Linked DNA regions of Homo sapiens: regions 1, 2, 3, 5, 6 and 7 are each linked to region 4. Evidence: promoter capture Hi-C in 16 types of primary human blood cells and fetal thymus (Javierre and others, 2016). All regions are on one chromosome and are shown on one strand. The core of a region is centred on a gene start or on the middle of the fragment in contact, and the rest is flanking DNA. Distances in the headings are between cores, read along the strand shown. Region 1 has its middle 27 kb from the start of RTP1. Region 2 has its middle 43 kb from the start of RPL39L. Region 3 has its middle 4.5 kb from the start of RTP1. Region 4 holds the start of RFC4 (replication factor C subunit 4). Region 5 overlaps RPL39L (ribosomal protein L39 like). Region 6 holds the start of RPL39L (ribosomal protein L39 like). Region 7 holds the start of DGKG (diacylglycerol kinase gamma).

Evidence for each region. The method cuts DNA at HindIII sites, captures the fragments that hold promoters and counts their contacts. A CHiCAGO score of 5 or more calls a contact.
Region 1: a fragment that was not itself captured here is called in contact with the fragment with the promoter of RFC4 in region 4 in 9 of 17 cell types (naive B cells, total B cells, naive CD4 T cells and 6 more); the score reaches 8.1 in naive B cells.
Region 2: a fragment that was not itself captured here is called in contact with the fragment with the promoter of RFC4 in region 4 in 5 of 17 cell types (total CD4 T cells, non-activated CD4 T cells, total CD8 T cells and 2 more); the score reaches 6.1 in total CD4 T cells.
Region 3: a fragment that was not itself captured here is called in contact with the fragment with the promoter of RFC4 in region 4 in 2 of 17 cell types (total B cells and naive B cells); the score reaches 5.7 in total B cells.
Region 5: a contact is called between a fragment that was not itself captured here and the fragment with the promoter of RFC4 in region 4, in 6 of 17 cell types (naive CD8 T cells, naive CD4 T cells, activated CD4 T cells and 3 more). The highest score is 6.7, in naive CD8 T cells.
Region 6: a fragment that was not itself captured here is called in contact with the fragment with the promoter of RFC4 in region 4 in 6 of 17 cell types (naive CD4 T cells, naive CD8 T cells, activated CD4 T cells and 3 more); the score reaches 9.7 in naive CD4 T cells.
Region 7: the fragment with the promoter of DGKG here is called in contact with the fragment with the promoter of RFC4 in region 4 in 1 of 17 cell types (M0 macrophages); the score reaches 5.1 in M0 macrophages.

What each region holds. Positions count from the first base shown.
Region 1 is chr3:187,169,274-187,171,973 of GRCh38, reverse strand. No RefSeq gene overlaps it. Among named protein-coding and RNA genes, the nearest start is that of RTP1, 27 kb to the left of the region's middle. RefSeq lists an enhancer at 630-1,131. The HindIII fragment of the contact is 1,735 bases long and covers 484-2,218 here.
Region 2 is chr3:187,094,944-187,097,643 of GRCh38, reverse strand. No RefSeq gene overlaps it. Among named protein-coding and RNA genes, the nearest start is that of RPL39L, 43 kb to the left of the region's middle. The HindIII fragment of the contact is 1,128 bases long and covers 829-1,956 here.
Region 3 is chr3:187,191,595-187,194,294 of GRCh38, reverse strand. No RefSeq gene overlaps it. Among named protein-coding and RNA genes, the nearest start is that of RTP1, 4.5 kb to the left of the region's middle. The HindIII fragment of the contact is 1,787 bases long and covers 541-2,327 here.
Region 4 is chr3:186,805,209-186,807,908 of GRCh38, reverse strand. RFC4 (replication factor C subunit 4) reads left to right here and starts at 1,427. Exons shown (of 11, transcript NM_002916.5): 1 at 1,427-1,619. RefSeq lists enhancers at 648-1,259, 1,260-1,871. The HindIII fragment of the contact is 2,364 bases long and covers 794-2,700 here.
Region 5 is chr3:187,121,235-187,123,934 of GRCh38, reverse strand. It overlaps RPL39L (ribosomal protein L39 like), which reads left to right. Exons shown (of 3, transcript NM_052969.3): 3 at 2,607-2,700. The coding sequence starts at 2,635. It also overlaps the pseudogene RPL39P19. Among named protein-coding and RNA genes, the nearest start is that of RPL39L, 17 kb to the left of the region's middle. The HindIII fragment of the contact is 3,064 bases long and covers 1-2,700 here.
Region 6 is chr3:187,137,233-187,139,932 of GRCh38, reverse strand. RPL39L (ribosomal protein L39 like) reads left to right here and starts at 437. Exons shown (of 3, transcript NM_052969.3): 1 at 437-720. RefSeq lists a silencer at 297-526 and enhancers at 567-716, 757-856, 725-1,231, 2,421-2,700. The HindIII fragment of the contact is 4,719 bases long and covers 1-2,700 here.
Region 7 is chr3:186,360,952-186,363,651 of GRCh38, reverse strand. DGKG (diacylglycerol kinase gamma) reads left to right here and starts at 1,418. Exons shown (of 25, transcript NM_001346.3): 1 at 1,418-1,706. RefSeq lists a silencer at 1,259-1,348 and an enhancer at 2,133-2,650. The HindIII fragment of the contact is 2,154 bases long and covers 357-2,510 here.

The DNA of each region.
Region 1 (2,700 bases), core at 102-2,601, 360 kb before region 4:
GGCTGAAGTGTGGGGATGGGGAGTAATTACAGTGTTATTATTTTTATTTTAATAGGGTAAGTAACACATTGTATTAGTGCTTCTATTAATGTTACTGGGAACCAAGATTTTTATGGTAATCAAAAAGAGATTGGAAATACATAAAATCTAAGATGGTAAATAAAAATTCCTATTATCTGAATTTGAATTGGAAATATAAGTATTATATCATAATGAAATTGTATTGCCCATAAAAATTATGAACTTCCTAACTTTGTCTATTACACAGACCTGAAAGAAATAAATCATCAATCCATTAGCAACAAGTACCTCTCAGCACCTGGATCACCAAAAGTGATCAGAACTTTCTGGAAAAATAATTCCTTCAGATATAAGTCAATAAATGTATAAAATGAGCCTGGAATATTTTCTTGTACCAGATTTCAAAAATTCCTATTGTCATGTCAAAAGACAAAAGGCAAATGAAACTAACCTGAAGAAGCTTTCACTGGCCAAAAACAAAATAATTGGATCATCAAAAAGAATAATGGCCACAATTCATTGAAGTACATCAAATATGCTAAAAATCCATAAATTAATAATGATATTTTAAATAAAAAAAACCAACTATTTATTTCAAAAATAGGCAAGGGAAAAATATTACATATTTATCTTGGCTTCCTTATGTAATCTGCATTTTGTGATAACCAAATAATAGTTGAGGGGAAGCTATTCTTTAGAGAAGAATTACAATTAATAAAAGAAAAGGGGCCGAGGCGCAGTGGTTCACACCTGTAATCTCAGCACTTTGGGAGGCCAAGTAGGGAGATCACTTGAGGTCAGGAGTTTGAGACCAGCCTGTCCAATGTGGTGAAACCCCATCTCTACTAAAAATACAAAAAAATCAGCTGGGCCTGGTGGAGCACACTGGTAATCCCAGCTACTCGCGAAGCTGAGGCATGAGAATTACTTGAACCCAGGTGGTGGGGGTTGCAGTGAGCTGAGATTGCGCCACTGAACTCCAGCCTGGGTGACAGAGCAAGACTCTATCTCAAAAAGTAAATAAATAAAAAATAAAAGGGAACAATAGGATCAGAATATCACTATTTTGCAGTCCTAATGAAATAATGATAAAGAAAAAAATCTAAATCTGCTAAACTCATTAATTAAGATGTTGTGGGGAACTTTATAGTGGATGGGTCAGGCTGACACCATCTGATCTTACTGATCAATTAAGAAAAGAAAGGCAATCAGACATCACGTGTCTCCTAATATAACGCTGCAGGAACAGTCCAACACTAGCACTGAAATAGTCACATTAAAAAATCCAAATCTGGCTGGGTGCGGTGGCTCACGCCTATAATCCCAGCACTTTGAGAAGCCAAAGTGGGTGTATCACGAGGTCAGAAGTTCGAGAACAGCCTGACCAACATGATGAAACCCTGTCTCTACTAAAAATACAAAATTTAGCTGGGCATGGTGGCGCGTGCCTGTAATCCCAGCTACTCAGGAGCCTGAGGCAGGAGAATCGCTTGAACCCGGGAGGCAGAGGTTGCAGTGAGCCTAGATCGTGCCACTGCACTCCAGCCTGGGTGACAGAGTGAGACTTCCAAAAAAAAAAAAAAAAAAAACATACCTGATCAGGCCTGTAGATAGTCTAGAGGAAATACGAAGTATGAGGAAACGTCTCAGACAAAAACCACAAGAATGTATCACCAAAGTCCAAAATGTGAGCAATTCTACAAGATACATGATTTTTTTTCCAAATAAATAAATGGTAAAGAAGAAGAGGGGGAAGGAGGACTGCTATAAAGTTAAAAAGAATTGAGACGCACAACCCGATGTGATATGTGAACTTTCTGACTGAATCAAATCAACTATAAAAAGGCATGTTTGAGATAACACAGACAACTTAATTATGTACTAAATTAGATGATTTTAAGGAATTCTTTTTGAAGAATTATGAGGAATTATGAAGAATGATTATGAAGAATTTCAAGGAGTTGCATTTGGAAATTTGAAATTTAAAAAAAATTTTAATAGTAAAAACAAAAGCAGAAGGTAAAAGGGAATAAAACTGTAAATAAGATGGATCCAGGACTGGATTTGGGGCATAGATGTATACATGTGTTATAGGAGTACCACAAAACAAGCTCTATGTTTGCAGCTACCAATGTGAGAAGGGAGAGAAAAATAGTGAGAAAGTGCTCAGTACCTACTCAGCAAAAACAAACAAGCTTTTCAGGTAGAGCATCATTCTACTGCTAAGTCCTGAGCAAATCCTCTGCCCTGGATCATCACTTAAAACAAATCCAGGACAGCTTCCCTTTTTAATTTGATTGGCCAAATATTTAAATCCTTTACTCCATACCCCAACCACCTGAACTATATAAGACCAAAAGACCCCTCATCATTTAAGAAACATTTGTTGAACTCTACTATATTTCAGTATGTGTGGTAAGAGTAAAGTATTTATTTACAAAGAAGGCAGACTCTGCTGTCAGTGAACTTAGAGTCTATAGTGATTTGCTGGCATTCATACAACCATCACATCATGCCAAGATAGATAGGTCATGAGAGCGAATAACAAAGATCTCTGGAAGCGGAAGGATTCCTCTTCAAATTCTCAGGACAAGTTAAGGTTTCTTACAGAAACACCATAACTGTGTGTTGTTAGCACAAGATGGGTTTTGCTGGGGGTGACATTCCACATAAACCAAA
Region 2 (2,700 bases), core at 143-2,642, 290 kb before region 4:
ATTTTCTTATATTTATTGAGACTTGTTTTGTGGCTTATGATACAGTCTATCTTGGAGAATGTTCCATGTTCTGATAAGAAGAATGTATATTCTCCAGTAGTTGAGTAGAATGTTCTGTAAATATCTGTTAAGTCCATTTGTTCTAGCATATAGTTGAAGTCCACTGCTTCTTTGTTAACTTTCTGTCTCAGTGATCTTTCTAGTGCTGTCAGTGGAGTATGGAAATTTCCCACTATTACTGTGTTGCTGTCTATCTCATTTCTTTGATTTAGTAGTGATTGTTTCATAAATCTTGGAACTCTGGTGTTAGGTGCATATAAATTTATGGTTGTAATATCTTCTTGTTGGACTGATCCTTTTATCATTATATAATGTTATTCTTTGTATTTTGTTTGCTTGTGTTTGGCTGTTGTTGCTTTAAAATCTGTTTTGTCTGATATAACAATAGCTACTCTGGCTTACTTTTGGTTTCCATTTGTGTGGAATATCTTTTTCCACTCCTTTACCCTGAGTTTACATGAATTTTTATGTGTTAGGTGAGTCTCTTGAAGACAGAAGATATCTAGTTTATGTTTTTTTTTAATCCATTCTGCCATTCTGTACCTTTTAAGTGGAGCATTTAGGCCATTTACATTCATACATTCATTACATTTTATAGGCCTTATAGTTTTATGCTTTCAGGAAGTTCTATTTTGGTGCATATCAAGCTTTTCTTTCACAATTTAAAACACCTTTTAGCATTTCTTGTAGTGCTGGTTTGGTAGTGGCAAATAACCCCAGCATTTGTTTGTCTGAAAAAGACTTTATTTTGCTCTAATTTATGAAGCTTAGTTTTGCTGGATACGAAACTCTTGACTGACAATTATTGTGTTTAAGGGGTCTAAAGATAGGACACCCAATCTCTTCTAGCTTGTAAGGTTTCTGCTGAGAAGTCTGTTATTAGCCTGATATGTTTTCCTTTATAGGTTACCTGATGCTTTTGTCTCACAGCTCTTAGAATTCTTTCCTTCATATTAACTTTAGATAGCCTGATCACTTTTTGCCTTGGTGATGATCTTTTTGCAATTAATTTCTCAGATGTTCTAGGAGCTTCCTGTACTTGGATATCTAAATCTCTAGCGAGGCCAGGAAACTTTTTCTCAATTATTACTTCAAATACGTTTTCCAAACTTTTATCCTTCTCTGTTCCCTCAGGAACAACAACTCTTCTTAGGTTTGGCCATTTTACGTAGTCCCATATTTCTTGGAGACTTTGTTCTTTTGATTCTTTATCTTTATCTGATTGGGCTAATTCAAAAGCCTTGTCTTCAAGCTCTGAAATTCTTTCTTCTATTGTTCTAGTTCATTGTTGAAACTTTCCACTGTATTTTTATTTCCCTAAGTGTGTCTTTCATTTCCAGATATTCTGATTAGTTTTTCCTTATATCTATCTCTCTGGAAAATTTCTCATCCACATCCTGTATTGATTTTTAAATTTCTTTATGTTGGTTTTCACCTTTCTCCAGTATCTCCTTGAGCAGCTTAATAATAAACCTTCTGAATTCCTTATCTGGTATTTCAAAGATTTCATCTTGCTTTGGATCCAGAGATGGGGAGCTAGTATGATCTTTTCAGGGCATTATAGAACCCCATTTTGTCATATTACCAGAATCTCTTTTCTGGTTCCTTCTCATTTGGGTAGACTATTTCTTGTAATTGTTCTTGAATTTATTTTTGGTTTCATTTTTTTTAATTTCTTTTTTTTTCTCTTAAGGATGTGACTTCAATATTTATAGTTTATTACAGCTGAATTTGGTTCTTGGTGCTTTTATGAGTGAAGATTCTGTAAGAATTCCTTGCTTATAGAGAGTCTTTGTGTGATGGCTGTCTCAGATGCTACTTGTAGTATGTATGTACTTGGTATAGGCAAGTTCATTGTCTCCTGTGGGATTGGAATGGTAGGGGTCTTTTGAAGCTTATCTCATTTCCCTGTGTTGTGCACTCATATTTATTTATTTTTTCTCCATTATTTTATTTACTGAGTTAATGGCTCAAGCTTCAGGACAGTAGGGGTGGAATTGTATCCCTGGGTAGGAACCGGTTGTAGCTAAAGCAAGTGGGTAAATGCAATACCCAATGGTGGGCAGAGATCCCAGCCTTGATTAAGGTTGCTTGGGGAGCTCCCAAATAGATGCACTGAGGTCTTATCAGAGTGAAGGTTGGGAGCTATCTCAGCTCCCCTGCCAGGCCAGCAGAAAAGCTATCCACCTCCCAGCCTCACACCTGTCCCAGTGTTCCAGCTATTCAGATTATACAGGCACTTCTTTTTGTCTGTAGGAATATTGGTGTTTCAAGTAGAGAGAAATTGTGAGTCTGCTTCTTGTGCAAGCCCAAACCTGGGGAATGCTCCTTCTGTGGGGATGCAGTTGCCCTGAAGTGTTCCAGGAAGGCTGTCTGTAGGTGAATCCACACAGAGTTCCCGTGAGAGAAGCCCCAGCTGTGTCTGCAGTGGTGGACAAGTGGGGAAAGAGGACCCTTTCTCTAAGACCTTTCATGAGCACCAAGCCTGTCTGACTGTTGGATAGAGACACAGATGTCCCCTGCTGAGTCCAGTACTGCAATTGTGTCTCTGCTGAAAGAAACTTTCCCACAGGAATGATCTGGGACTCAAGGCCTGTCACCCAGATTATTTTGTCCCACACGGTGTTCCCGTGATGTGGT
Region 3 (2,700 bases), core at 185-2,684, 390 kb before region 4:
AGACGGGGTCTTGCTGTGTTGCCCAGGCTGGTCCCAAACTCCTGGGCTCAAGCAAACCTCCTGCCTCCACCTCCCAAAGTGCTAAGATCACAGGCATGCGCCATCTCACCTGGCCGGCATTGGGAAAAACTCTTAAGTTCTTCAGGACCCTTCATTAAACTTTCAGTCCTTCAAGTCAGTATTCTTACCTCTGAATTAAGGCAACCAACACCTAAATAAGTAAACTCGTTTAACAAACCTCACAGATATGATGGGAACTGCCTCAGGTGGGAGTTACTGGCCAAAATGAGAATGGGGGCTGTGGACCTTCCCAGAAAATACGTGAAGCTGAGAGGAGCTTATAACAAACAGTGCTACCCAGAACAAATCCTCTAGAAGTATTTTGCAGGTGTTGCTACAATAAACACTATGATGACAGAAGACAGAAAGTAAGAATCACCAGAGGGGTGTGTGTGTGTGTGTGTGTGAGTGTGTGTGTGTGTGTAACCAGCTGATGCAATCCCCATTGGCACAAATTAAGTTTTATTTAGAACCCAAGCTTGCTGTGCAGAGGCCAATATAATGCATCCTTCTGGATAGCAGAGTATTTTCTCTAATAAAAATTTCTATCAAGACAGAAAAAAATACTGTGGTATTGCAACTTGCTCTCTATCAAATGACCTCTAACACCATGGAATCTACAATTTAGAGAAGGCCAATTCAGACATCTCTAAAGCTGTTGGCCTCACCCTGGTCAATTTCTTAAAGTTTGTGATCATGTTTTAAGTGGATAAAATGCTTTAAATTAAGTTCCCAACTAGAAAATAGAGCAATGAAAAGAAAAAACAAGCCTCTAATTTTTTTTCTTGAAATGATGCACTCATGAAAAATTCTCAACTATGCACAATTTTCTATCCCTAAATGGCATTTGAGAAGAAGGAGGGGTGTGTTTTAGGGCTGGACCCATGACTGGAAGTTTCTACTGGTACCCTGTACCAAAGATCTAAATGTGCCTCACAGTCCCAAAACAAAGACTCTTTCCTTCCAGAATGCCCCAACATTGCTGGACCAGAACAGTAAGCCCCTCCATCTGTTGATTTAATGATATTAAGAGCCCATGTAGTAGTCTCAACTTTAAAGGAATTTTTAATTTTCTTCTCTAATGGCAACATTTTTTTTCCTTGGGTACTAAGATTTCTAAAATAGCAGAGATCAAAGTTATGGGTACAGAAAGAAAAGGGAAAAAAAACTAGTTTACCATTAGGGCTAATTTTGAGAAAGCCAGTCCATTCTACCCTTTAATTCTTGGAACTAAGCACTATATCATCATGGTTGCTAATTCTGAGCATGTACCACATCCTGGAGAACATTATCCTAGCCCTGCAAGGTCCTGTCCCCCAGCTGATTCTATAACTGAGTCTTCCAAAGACCACCACATTGTTCAATCAGGCCAACTACTTCAGGATTATGGGTGATATAGTTAAGACTAATGAATTTCATGAGTGTGAGCTCATTGCCAGATTTCCTTTACTTTGAAATGAGTTGCCAGTCAGAAGCAATGCTATATGGAATATCACAATGGTATATAAGGAATTCTCTAAATCCACTGCTAAGTGCCTGATATGGTTTGGATTTGTGTCCCCACCCAAATCTCATGTTGAATTGTAATCCCCAATGTTGGAAGAGGGTCCTGGTGGGAGGTGATTGGATTATAGTGGTGGATTTCCCCCTTGCTCTTCTGGTGATAGTGAGTGAGTTCTCATGAGATCTGGTTGTTTAAATGAGTGTAGCACCTCCCCCTTCGCTCTCTCTTCCTCCTGCTTCAGCCACGTAAGACAAGCCTGCTTTCCTTCACCTTCCGTCATGATTGTAAGTTTCCTAAGGCCTCCTCAGCTATGCTACCTGTACAGCCTATGGAACCCTGAGCCAATTAAACCTCTTTTCTTTATATTAATAAATTACCCAGTCTCAGGTATTTCTTTTTAGCAGTGCAAGAATGGACTAATACAATGCCCAAATTCCAAAAACAGAGAGAGACCAACACTGAACAATTGATTGGGCCATGATTCCATGGGAAACAACCAACGACCTGGTGGCAAGTTGATTACACTGGACCATTTCCATCAAGGAAGGGATAGACCTTTGTTTTCACTGGAAGAAACAATTACCGTGAATATGGACTTCCCTTCCTCTCCACAATGCCTCTGCCATTTGTGAACTTTCATAATGCCTTATTCACCATTATGGTATTTCTCCACTTGGGTCTTTCCTTTTAGCTGCTCAGGCTTCTTCACTACATGGTAGTTTGTTTCCAAGAAGATTCATTCTAGGAAGAATAAATGGAAGCTTCCAGTCCTCCTTAAGGCTAGAGTCAGAAGTCCCATAACATCACTCCTGTCATATTCTGTTGATGAAAGCAATCACAGGGCCAGCCCGATATAGGGGAATGGGAAATAAACTTCAACTCTTGATGGGGAAATTGCCTGTGCCTATAGGAAGGGAAGGAATTGGTGGCAGCCATCTTTGGAGACTTTCTACCACAGTACCTGATTATTTTTCTTCATCCTTCAAAGAGCTTAGTGCCTTGAGAACACGATGTCCAATTCTATGATGTAGGTAGAGGTTGACATTATTTTGCAAAAAAAAAAAAAAAAAAAAGCAAACTAAGGATCAAAAAGGCAAAGTAGCCAAAGAGTAAACTAATCCAGCAAGTCCAATCCC
Region 4 (2,700 bases), core at 178-2,677:
CAGGTGATCCGCCCACCTCGGCCTCCCAAAGTGCTGTGATTACAGGCATGAGCCACCGTGCCCAGCCCAACTTGTCTGTTAAATGAGATCATAACATCCCCCTCTCTGTGGTTGTGCTGTTCCTTCAGGTAGCAAATGGATACCATCTATTTTCATAGATCTTGTTTTATCAACTGTATTGTGGTATAATTTACATACAATAAAATATACAAGCATTAAGTATACAGTTTGATAAGTTATGGTAATGTAAACCGGTGACCAGATAGATAACCTGTGTGTTTTTTATACTGTCCAGAGATTGTATCAGACTCTGTGGAAATTACAAAGTAGCATAAAGCATCCTTACTTTGGTTAAACCCTTGATTGGGTTAGGCCTGGGATGTAAGTTCTCACAGCCCCCTACTTCCTCTGCATAACCACACATCACATTGTCTGTCACTCTCCTAGTCTGTAAAGCTACTTGAGGGCATCTCGAGCGTTTTCCCTGCTGTATCTGCAGGCATCTAACACAGTGCGTGGACATTCTGTAAGCATTTGTTGCAAGATAAATGAAAAAAACGTACAAAGTTAACAATGGATATCATGCTGAGTTTGTGCCAAACAAAACAGTCATTTGAAGAAGACCCGGAACAACCTTATGGGTTAGTAATTAGTAAAGACCAGTAGAGAAGGTGGCCTTTGAGAAGGGTCAGGTTTCAATAGGATTAAGGAGCATTTCAGAGCTAAACCAAGTACTTGGAAGAGATAAAAGCAGTGGGCTCAGGCACCAGCCTAGCCCACTGTGCATGAAGCTTGGTGGGGCTAAACATGATTATCAGTCCTTTAACTTTTATTGAACGCCTTCACTTCCAGATTTCTAAGTGGGGCTCAGGAATTATAATAGATGTCCACAGCTGCATGGTCTTCTCTCTCCACAACACGCAGACACTATTAGAAGTAAAAGCCACGTGTCCTCAAGAGGGCAAGGCAAAGCATCTTCAGATGTCTCTGCCCTTAAAGCACACGCGTTCTGCTCTGCGACGAAGCAGGACAAGGAGGACAGGGACCTGCACCTCCGGAGGCCCGCACCTACGAAGATAGCGGGCTCGGGACCTTCGGTGGACCGGCAGGGTTCCAGAGGCCCGCGCGCCGCCGCCCCGCCCTCATTGCTGAGCCTGCCAGGTAAGCAGCCCCAGCGCCGTGCCCGCGCGACCTCTACTCCTTCCGGGAGGGTCGCGCTCACGTCTGAAGTGGGAGCAATGCACCGGGACAGGGACACCTCCTAGGCCATGCCTGTTCCAGTCCAGTTCTGCCTGAAAGTCCGGCTGGCTCATCACCTGCCTAAATAAAACCGTATACGGGCAAACTCCCTCCGCAAGCAGCGCGCCCCAGCACCGGAAGTGACGCGTTACGTGCCCGCGTATTCCTACCGGCGTATTCCCGCCCTGCTTTTCGCCCGCCGTTCCGTGGCGGGAACTGAGGCGACTGTGGGGACATCAGTGATCGTAAGTCTCCTGGGCCCGTTATTCTCAGATTAGGTGACGGAGCTAAGACTTCGAGACCATCTCGTCCTTTTTGTATCGCGGAAACCTGAGGAACGAGCCGGCGGCGGTGACCTGCACGAGAAGCCAGGCTAACTGGTAACCTGCTGGAGGAACTGCAAGCCCGCTTCGCCTTCCCCACTCCTGCCCTTGATGCCCCTTGTGAGGTCTTCCACCTCCTTCGGGGCCCCAGCCTAGTGGCCCTTTCATGCCCTGGCCGCGCCCTTTGGTGAAATGGTGGTTCCGGACAGCATCTTGCAGGCCCCGGCTTTGGGCTGTATTAATGTTTAACAGCCCGAGGCAGGGATGGACTAATCCAGTAACGTTATAAAAACCTTGGCTGCTAACAGATATTAAAAATTTATTTTATTGAGCATATCCCCATATGCCAAGCAAGGAACTATGTATTTGCATACATTCTTTTATTTAACTCAGTTGTCCTGTGGAATAGGCCTTAGCTCCTTTAACAGAAAAGGAAACCGGGTATCATAGATGGTAATTCATTCACCAAATATTACGGAGCATCTACCATGTACCAGGCACTGTTCTAGGCACCAGGGCATGTAGCAGTGAAAAAAATAGAATTAACCGGGGACTTTTCAGGCGAGCTAATGATGCTTTTTATCCCTGAAAACAGCCTGGAAGAATGTTTACCTGCATGTTAGAAATAGTTACCTTCTGGGTGGGATTTTGTATTACTTTTTTAAATCTCTCATGCTTTTATGCATTGTTTTGATTTCTTCAAGTGAGTGTGTTATGAGAAAAACAGCTGTTTCTATTTTAACAACAGAGTCCCCCACCTTCCCTTCCCCACAGAAAGTCTCTGAAGGTAGGTAAGCATTGACTCTGCCATGAAAATAGGTCCCTGGCCAGGCGAGATGGCTCACACCTGTAATCCCAGCACTTTGGGAGGCCGGGGCAGGAGGATTACTTGAGCCCAGGAGTTCCAGACCAGCCTAGGCAACATGGTGAAACCCTGTCTCTACCAAAAATTTAAAAAATTAGCCGGGGGTGGTGGCACGCACCTGTAGTCCTAGCTACTGGGGAGGCTGAAGTGGGAAGATGACAGGAGCCTGGGATGTCAAGGCTGCAGTGAACCATGATTCCGCCACTGCACTCCATCCTAGGCAAAAGAGTGAGACCCTGTCTCAAAAACAACAACAACAAAAAAAGGTCTTTG
Region 5 (2,700 bases), core at 193-2,692, 320 kb before region 4:
TTTCCATGAGAGTTAGTTCTAGCTAAGAGCTGTATGTCACTGGCATTGAGCTTTCAGGAAATACCTGGTCAGAGCTTCTAGCCCAAAGTGTCTCCAGAGGTGAGCACACTATCATCCTCTTCATTGGAAATGAATACTTGGAATAGTACAGTAAACTATTTGTCCTACTGTAGTTCTTTATCTTACTACAGTAGATTTTTCTTACAGAAGACTTTCAAACAAGATTGGCTTCAAGAACCCTAACCAGTACAACCAGGGTTCCCAAGGGAGAGGGTGTTAAGACTCTGGGTTTGTTGGCAACCCAGTCTAGTTCTTTCCCTGTATTCTTGAAGACTTTTTTTCTGAAGTGGTTGGAGCCAAATAGTCACTGATAGATTGTATAGAGGGAATTAATATACAAAGGGTAGAACAGGGTCTGCTAGATAGCTAGCTAAAGTCAGCATGTGGTCAATTTAAGATGAACTGTGATTGGTAGCTAAAAGTTCTTTGCTGCTAATGTATGGGAAGAAAATAAAAGGATTGGGCAGAAATAGTAGTGTACTTTCCCTATCTTTATCACCCATTTGGCATTTTCAGGCCTATTTGTTATTCTCGTAACCTGTAGACTCCTACAAGGATACTTGCGGCTTAGTTTTCAATGTTTTATATTTCATGAAACATTTGTATCTCAACCACACCCCACACTATACCCCAACTTAGTTGCCTACTCATCTGTTACTTGCACATAAAGTCTCCTGCTCCTGAAAGTTCCCAGTGGGAAGATGTACAAATCTGGGGACACTGGCCTCCCCACTAGGGCAGTTGTCTCAGAAGTGTCTGAAGTTTGGATATTAGGGTTGAAAGGCAGACAGTATAATTAGCACTCTTATTTCTTCTGGTATTTCCTTACCATGATATTTATGGGTTGCCCATCAATTTGGACTTTTTTTCCACCCCATTTTTCAATACCTAGACTAATAGGTATTTCTATTGAGAACTTCCTTTTTCTCTTTTTTAAATTTTCCTCTATTTTCTTTTGGTTATTTTGAGAGCTGAAATTCACAGAAGTATCCTAAATTATCTTTTCCAAAATTGTTATAGCAAAGACTGCTAGTTATCTACTCTGCTATTCATTCTTCTTCCTTTTTCTTTAGCAGAACCTGATTTGTGTGGGGTTAGGGGCATCATGTGCTCAGCTAAAAAACTATAGTGCCCATCCTTCATTACTGCTAAGGATGGCAGTGGAACACAGTTCTTGCCAATAAGGTGTAATCAAAGGTATTGAGAGAGATACCTAGTAAAGCTCCTTAAAAGCCGGTAGCCTCACAGCATGTACTCTTTTGCCTTTCTTTCTTTCTTTCTCTTCTTCCTGCCTGCATGTTAGGGGAGATGCCAGACATAGAATAAACATCTCACAACAGTGAGCCATAAGACAGAAACCAAGATAATAGCTTGGGTCACATCTGAAGAGACTGGGTTAGACACTGTGTGTGAACTCAGACAGTCAGAAACAGTCATACTTTTTGCACACTACCACTATCCCCATTATCTTAGAGTTAAAAAAAAATGCCTTTGTCATGACAGATCCATACTGTTTGTATATCTCCAACACTGTTTGCAGTAAGACTTTACTGCCATCATGTAATTACTCTCACAATCTGAGATGTAGACATTATTTTGCATCTGAATCATTAAAAATAACTACTGTGTCTCTGGCCCCAGGTTGATGTTCGTTAATTATGGAGGACCCAAGATCTTTAAATGGAGTGGTAGCATGCAATTCAGTAGATGGCAATGTGGTCAATTTTGATAATTAGATAAAAATATTAGTATGCACAGCCAGTGGCTTTTAAAATAGTAGTAACATGAAAGTACCGTGAGATAGTTTTACAGCAAATCGCATGTTTTAAATGTATACATTCATATTTTAAGTGTTGTGGGGATGAATTACTTGTTTTATAGGTTTCTATTTTCAACCATGTTTTCCTGTTCTGTACTATTTGCCATAGCAGGACACTGGAAAAGATTTAAGACCTCCAAATGTAAAGGGTTATTGAGAAAGAGTTGCCAAAAAAGGGTCACATATTAGTTAGATAAGTTGTAGTTACAAAATAATATCTACAATATCTCAATTTATAGAAAGACAATATTCTGCATGTACATCTGTCTTAACTGGAAGGCTCTTATAATATCAAGTTGTTAATATTGGGGCTTTTTCTAGCTAGATGGGATAATAGTTTTTTTTAGTGTTCTATTGCTTTAATTTTTCTGTAATGAACTGGTATTACCTGTTCGTAACTTTTTTAAAGTTGAAAATAATTCCTCTTGATGGACATTTAACAAGAGAAGCAGAAGTATGTTGCTGAGAAATGAGTAGCATCAAGTCAGGAACAGTAGGAACAAAGGGACTCCTGCCTTTGCTGCTGATCCACCAGAACAGCCATCAGACTCCTCAGACCGCTGCTGGCTCCTGAGCTGCTCCTGAGCTGCCTGTGGGATCCTGAGTGGCAATGAGCCCTCGCTGTGGCACTAAAGATCCTCTTTCTTGTCTTGTTATTTCTTCATGTTACCTTATCCTATCCTATGGTAATATTGTCTCTGTCTCTCTCTCCCTTTCTCCGCCATAGTGGTGTGTGGTTGACTCTGTTTCTCGCCATGTCTTCTCACAAGACTTTCACCATTAAGCGATTCCTGGCCAAGAAACAAAAGCAAAATCGTCCC
Region 6 (2,700 bases), core at 169-2,668, 330 kb before region 4:
ATGAGACAATTGTTAGAGACGCAGGGATGGAGCTGAGAGGTCCTCCTGGTCTCCAATGGCCCGGCGGTGGCTCGATGGGAGGGAGAGCGCCCCCTGGAGGCATTGGCGGTTCCTGGCTCGTGTGCTCGCGGGAACCCAAGCTGTGAGCCTCTGGCCCCGCCAGGGCGTACGAATCCTTTCCTCGTTTATCCAGTATTAAGTCACGCTGTGTGCTAAGTACCGTGGCCAGGCAGCAGCTAGACAACGCGCTGAGGTAAAATAGAGAACTAAGGAAGAATGGGGGACCCCAAAGTCAACTTGGTGACACATCACACGCAGGAGTCGGACCCACGGCTCCCCGAGCCACAGCTCAGTGGGGCGGGACCGCCCGGGCCTGGGCGGGGCCGGGGCGGGGCCTGTCACGGGGGAAATCACCGCCCTAGCATCCGGGGAAATCGCGGTCTTAGCATCCGGCGCGCGGCGGTTGAATTGCTGCGCCCAGCGAGGCAACCGCCTCCGAACGCCAGGTGGGGGCGAGGCGTCTCGGAGTCTCAGAGACACCAAGGCCCCTGCGACAAGGTGGCTGCAGCTAGGCCGGGGGCGTCAGGACGACGGAGCGGGTTCGGGTCGGTGACACGCAGACCTGAGGGAGCTGGGCCCGCCTTTTCCGCCCGCGCCCCAGGCCCTTGCAGATCGAGATTTGCGTCCTAGAGTGGGAAAAAAGCAGAGGCCAGGGCGCCGGTAAGTAAAGGTTCCTCCTCACCCGCCGCCAGGGCCCGGTCCGCCCAACGAGCAGGGCGGCGTGAGGGTCACGGGCTGGAAACAACAATGCCACAGCTCAAGCCGACTCCAACAGTAGTAGCGTTTTTGTTTGTTTGTTTGTTTGTTTGTTTTTTGAGACAGGGTCTCCCTCCGTCGCCCAGGCTGGAGTGCAGTGGTGTGATCTCGGCTCACTGCAACCTCCGCCTCCGGATTCAAGCGATTCTCCCGCCTTAGCCTCCTGAGTAGCTGGGGTTACAGGCGCGCGCCACCACACTCGGCTAATTTTTGTATTTTTAGTAAAGACGGGTTTCACCATATTGGTCACACCAGTCTCGAACTCCCGACCTCAGGTGATCCGCCCGCCTCGGCCTCCCAAAGTGCTGGGATTACAGGCGTGAGGCACTGCTCCTGGCCTACAGTAGTGGCTTCTGGAGGCCACTCAGGCACCCCCTGTTTCTAGCTTAGAGAAGGAGGAAATCGACAATAAAGTAGCCTTAAAGGGATCCATGTTCCGCCCTGCCACCTCTTCAGATGTCAGCGTTGTCCAACTAGTGTCCCTAGAATTACCCAGGATGTGAGTGGCACTGATTCATCAGTGGTTTAATCAGCAAAACCAAGTGTCTTACCTATCTGCCTCATCTGCTCACTGCCTCTTTCCAAGGCGTTCTCACAGGCGCAAACACTTTCTTTTCCTCCATTAATTCCAGTAGGTAAGATTTTGCAGTCTCCTTTAAGGTCCCCGTTTCTCAAAGATAGCCCAAGGAATCTCGCCACTTCCTTGCCTTTTACACATCTGGATTCATCCAGAGACATAAACCCTGACCAGGACTAGCTTCAAAAGGGTCCCACCCGTGCAGTCACATAGGGCTCAGAAGGGCCCTGTACTTACTTTCTTGCTCTGCTATGGCAATCTTGAAATTCTTAATTTTTAAACCAGCACCCGCCTCCCCTCCCCGCCACCTCCACAACATTTTCATTTTGCACTGGGCCTGGCCTTAATTCTCAATTTTCTCAAAGGCTGTCATGTAACTATATAAAAATATAGTTAAAAGAGTTTCTTCTCTAGACATGTCTTTAGTCACTAGGACATCAAGAGACAGGACGGATGCTTCTATTAACTGAGAGTTGTTGGAATCATAAAGGCTTTGTAATCCAATAGTCACCCTCCACGCCTTCTCAATTTCAGAACCTAAGAGAGTTTGCTTAGAGAAAGAACCTGAGAGGTTGTAAAGCTGAGCTGACCAAAGCTCATTGAATCACATGTAGCTATTCAGCACTTGAAATGTGGCTGGTCTGAAAAAAGATGTGCTACAAATGTTAAAACGCACACCAGCTTTTAAAGTCTCTTTTTTTCCTTTTTTTTTTTTTTTGAGACGGAGTATCCTTCTGTCGCTGGAGTGCAGTGGCGCAATCCTGGCTCACTGCAACTTCTGCTGCCTGGGTTCAAGTGATTCTCCCGTCTCAGCCTCCCGAGTAGCTGGGATTGTGGTAGCTGTGCCTGCCACCACACCCGGCTAATTTTTGTATTTTTAGTAAAGACGGGGTTTCACCATGTTGGCCATGGTTGGCCAGGCTGGTCTCGAATTCCTGACCTCAGATGATCTGCCCGCATCAGCCTCCCAAAGTGCTGGGATTGCAGGCGTGAGCCACCGCACCCGGCCAATTTTTCTTTTTCTTTTTTGAAGACGGAGTCTTACTCTGTTGCCCAGGCTGGAGTGCAGTGGTGCAACCTCGGCTCACTGCAGCCTCCGCCTCCCGGGTTCAGGTGATCCTCCTGCCTCACCTCCCCAAGTAGCTGGGACTACAGGCATGTGCCACCACGCTGTCTAATTATTTTGTATTTTTAGTAGAGACGGGGTTTCACCATGTTGGCCAGGCTGGTCTGGAACTCCTGACCTCAGGTGATCCTGAGCATTTTGGCCTCCCAAAATGCTGGGATTACAGGTGTGAGCCACTGCA
Region 7 (2,700 bases), core at 169-2,668, 440 kb after region 4:
GAAAAAAAGAAAGGACAAGGAAGAACTTTGAAGGCACCCTCACCAAGATTATTTCAGCCTAGCTGAAGGAAACTTTGAGAAGCCACCCAGGGTGATAGAATGGATAAGACCCAGAGGATAAGAGGAGTCGCAAACACGGGGTTCTGGTATCAGCTCTGTCTTCATCACTGTGTGGAATCTTAAGGAGATCTCTCAGCTCTGTTTCTCATCTGTCTCACCAGCCTGCCTGCAGATAGCCTAGTATGGACACCACCCAACAGGGTCCTCAGGGCTGTTTGACATTCGTGTTTGAGGCTTCTTCCCCAAATGCACAGACACCCAGAGCCCCTCGGCGCCTCCACACTCTGCGGAAAGCTTTTCTTGGCTGCAGTGCTGGCCCGGGGACCTTCACTGCCCACTGGCAGAAAAGAATTCTCGGCTGTGGAAATGAGTAAACTCCACATATTTTAAAGATGACAGTCTAAACTCCTAATGACTCTAAATGTGGTGTGAAATGGACAGCAGTCATCTTGCTGTGTGACATGCCTGAAATAGTGTCACCACCACCATCACCCCCTCACGTGGACATGCACGTCATGGAAAGAGAAGCAACAAGTCATAGTGCCTTGGCTAATGTAGCTCCCCTATTCCCCCCGACCCCTCACCCCAGCGTCTTTTCTGTGCTCTTCTACATTTTAAAAAAAGAAGAGATCTATTTATTCTGCAGGAATACAGTCCAAGGTCACCTAAAAGCAAAGGAGAATGGGAATTAAACACACCCAGAGACCCGACCCATCCAACAGAGTCCAGCTCAGGCAGGCTGTGCCAGTCTCCACCAGGCTACGAGGGGAAAACCTTTTCGAGTTGAACTGCCACCAATCCACTGCCACCGAAGTCAAGGTTGTCAGAAATGACCCTCTGGACAGGGCTAGTGATTTGGATCCTAGAGATACTGAGTTCCTGGGAAACAAAGAGAACTTGTTGATTTTGTATTTTTATTTTTTCTTCGATTTGGTCGGGATATTACGGTAGCCTTGACCAGAGTTGAGAAAAGGAAACGCCCAGTCGGTATTTATTTGTCAAACAGTTGTCCTTTGCCTCCGGGGTCAGGGGCCCTCTGGTACCCACCACTGTTGCATCCTCTCCACACTCCTAAGCCTGTAACTCCTCCTCCCAAACCGAAGCCCTGTCAGTAAAAAGCGTCCTAATGATGCCCGCGCCCTAGTTGCACCAAAGGGGGTCAGGTTCCCATCGAGCGGATCCACATTCGTGTGTGCGCACGCGTGTGCATGTGTGGAAGCGCGTGTCTGTGTGTGCCGTGTGTGTACGCGCGCGCGCCGGTGTGTGTGGCGGGGGCGGGCTCTGCGCCCGGGGGCAGGGCTCCGCAGTGAGAGTGGCAGCTGGACTTGCCAGGCTGCGAGGGGCAGGGCACAGAGCCGCAGTGCCGTAGTAGCGGGCCACGGAGATAGACAGCTTTGGAGCTGCTGAACTCCGAGCACAGGGTGAAGACCCCGGCGCTACCAACCACAGCCTGGCAGCCTGGTCTCCGCGGCACCCACTGGGGCTGCATCCCCCTCCCCCGAGAGGGCTGCGCAGGCGGGAAGACGCCCAGAGGCCAGCTTCGGTCCCCCTTCTGTCTCTCGGTTCCTCTTTCCTCCCAAGTAAGGGAATAAACCGCGAAGAAGGAGCGCCCCGGGCCACCGCGCAACCAAGTGTTGCCTGGTGAGGTAAGACGGCGGCCGGCGCGGCGGAGGGGGTCCCCGGCTCAGGGAGCACCCGGTGCAGCAACTTGGTAAAGGAGGGCAAAGCGGGAGCCGGTCCCGCGGCCAGGGAAGGGGCTGCAGCCAAAGCCACGGCGCCCACCCCGACAGTTCCACCTGCCACAAAGCCCTGCAGGAAGGGATGCCCCGCTCGAGGGGTGCAGGCTTGGGGAACGCACAGGGTGGGGCTCGGCTCTCTCTGCGACTGAGAGGCCCCCTCAAGCCTCAAAGCTGTGCGGGTGGGAGGCGGCCTTGCTCCAGGCAGTTTGCTAAAGCAACTGGTCGGATTTCCTTCTTCTTCTGGACTTAACCTTGGCTCCTTGATATCCAGTTCGCGCTCCAGGCAGTCCGAGAAGCAGGAGATGCTTTTCCTAATGTCTGGCCGCCAAAGCCTCCGACCGTCCCGCGGGGTTCTAGGACTTTGGGGGCACTCCACAAAGCCCCTGCGCAGGGCGACTTAAAGGGAAGCTGAAGCGAACACGGACACCTCAGAGAATAAAGGAGGGAAGGGTCGAATCTGAGGTTGATCTGTGTAGTCTCAGAGTCACAAGATGTGTCCGTGTGTGTGCTTGTGTCCTGAGGAGTGCGTACCCGGAGTCACCTGTGGTGCTTTCGCAGACTCCACCGGTCCACCTCCCCTTGCCTAGTCTGAGATTTTCTTCGTTTGAACTAGTGGAATAGAATTAGGGGAGGGGGCTGTGGAGTTCTAAAAAGCCCTACAGGTGATTTGACGTGCTGCCCCCATCCCCACCATCACTGCAGTGGAAAGCTTGGGACTAGAGCTAGAACCACCTCCCAGATGGGAGGGATGAGCTGCGGAACTCAGGGTGGCGGTCGAGACCCCTCCCCCAGTCGCCCCCCGCGGCGGGAGCGTCTGCTGCAGCGCGAAGCGATCTGTGGCTGCGCCGCAGTGGTGCCCGGGAGCGCTGTGAACCCGTGGGCGCGCTCTCCCGCGCTGCGC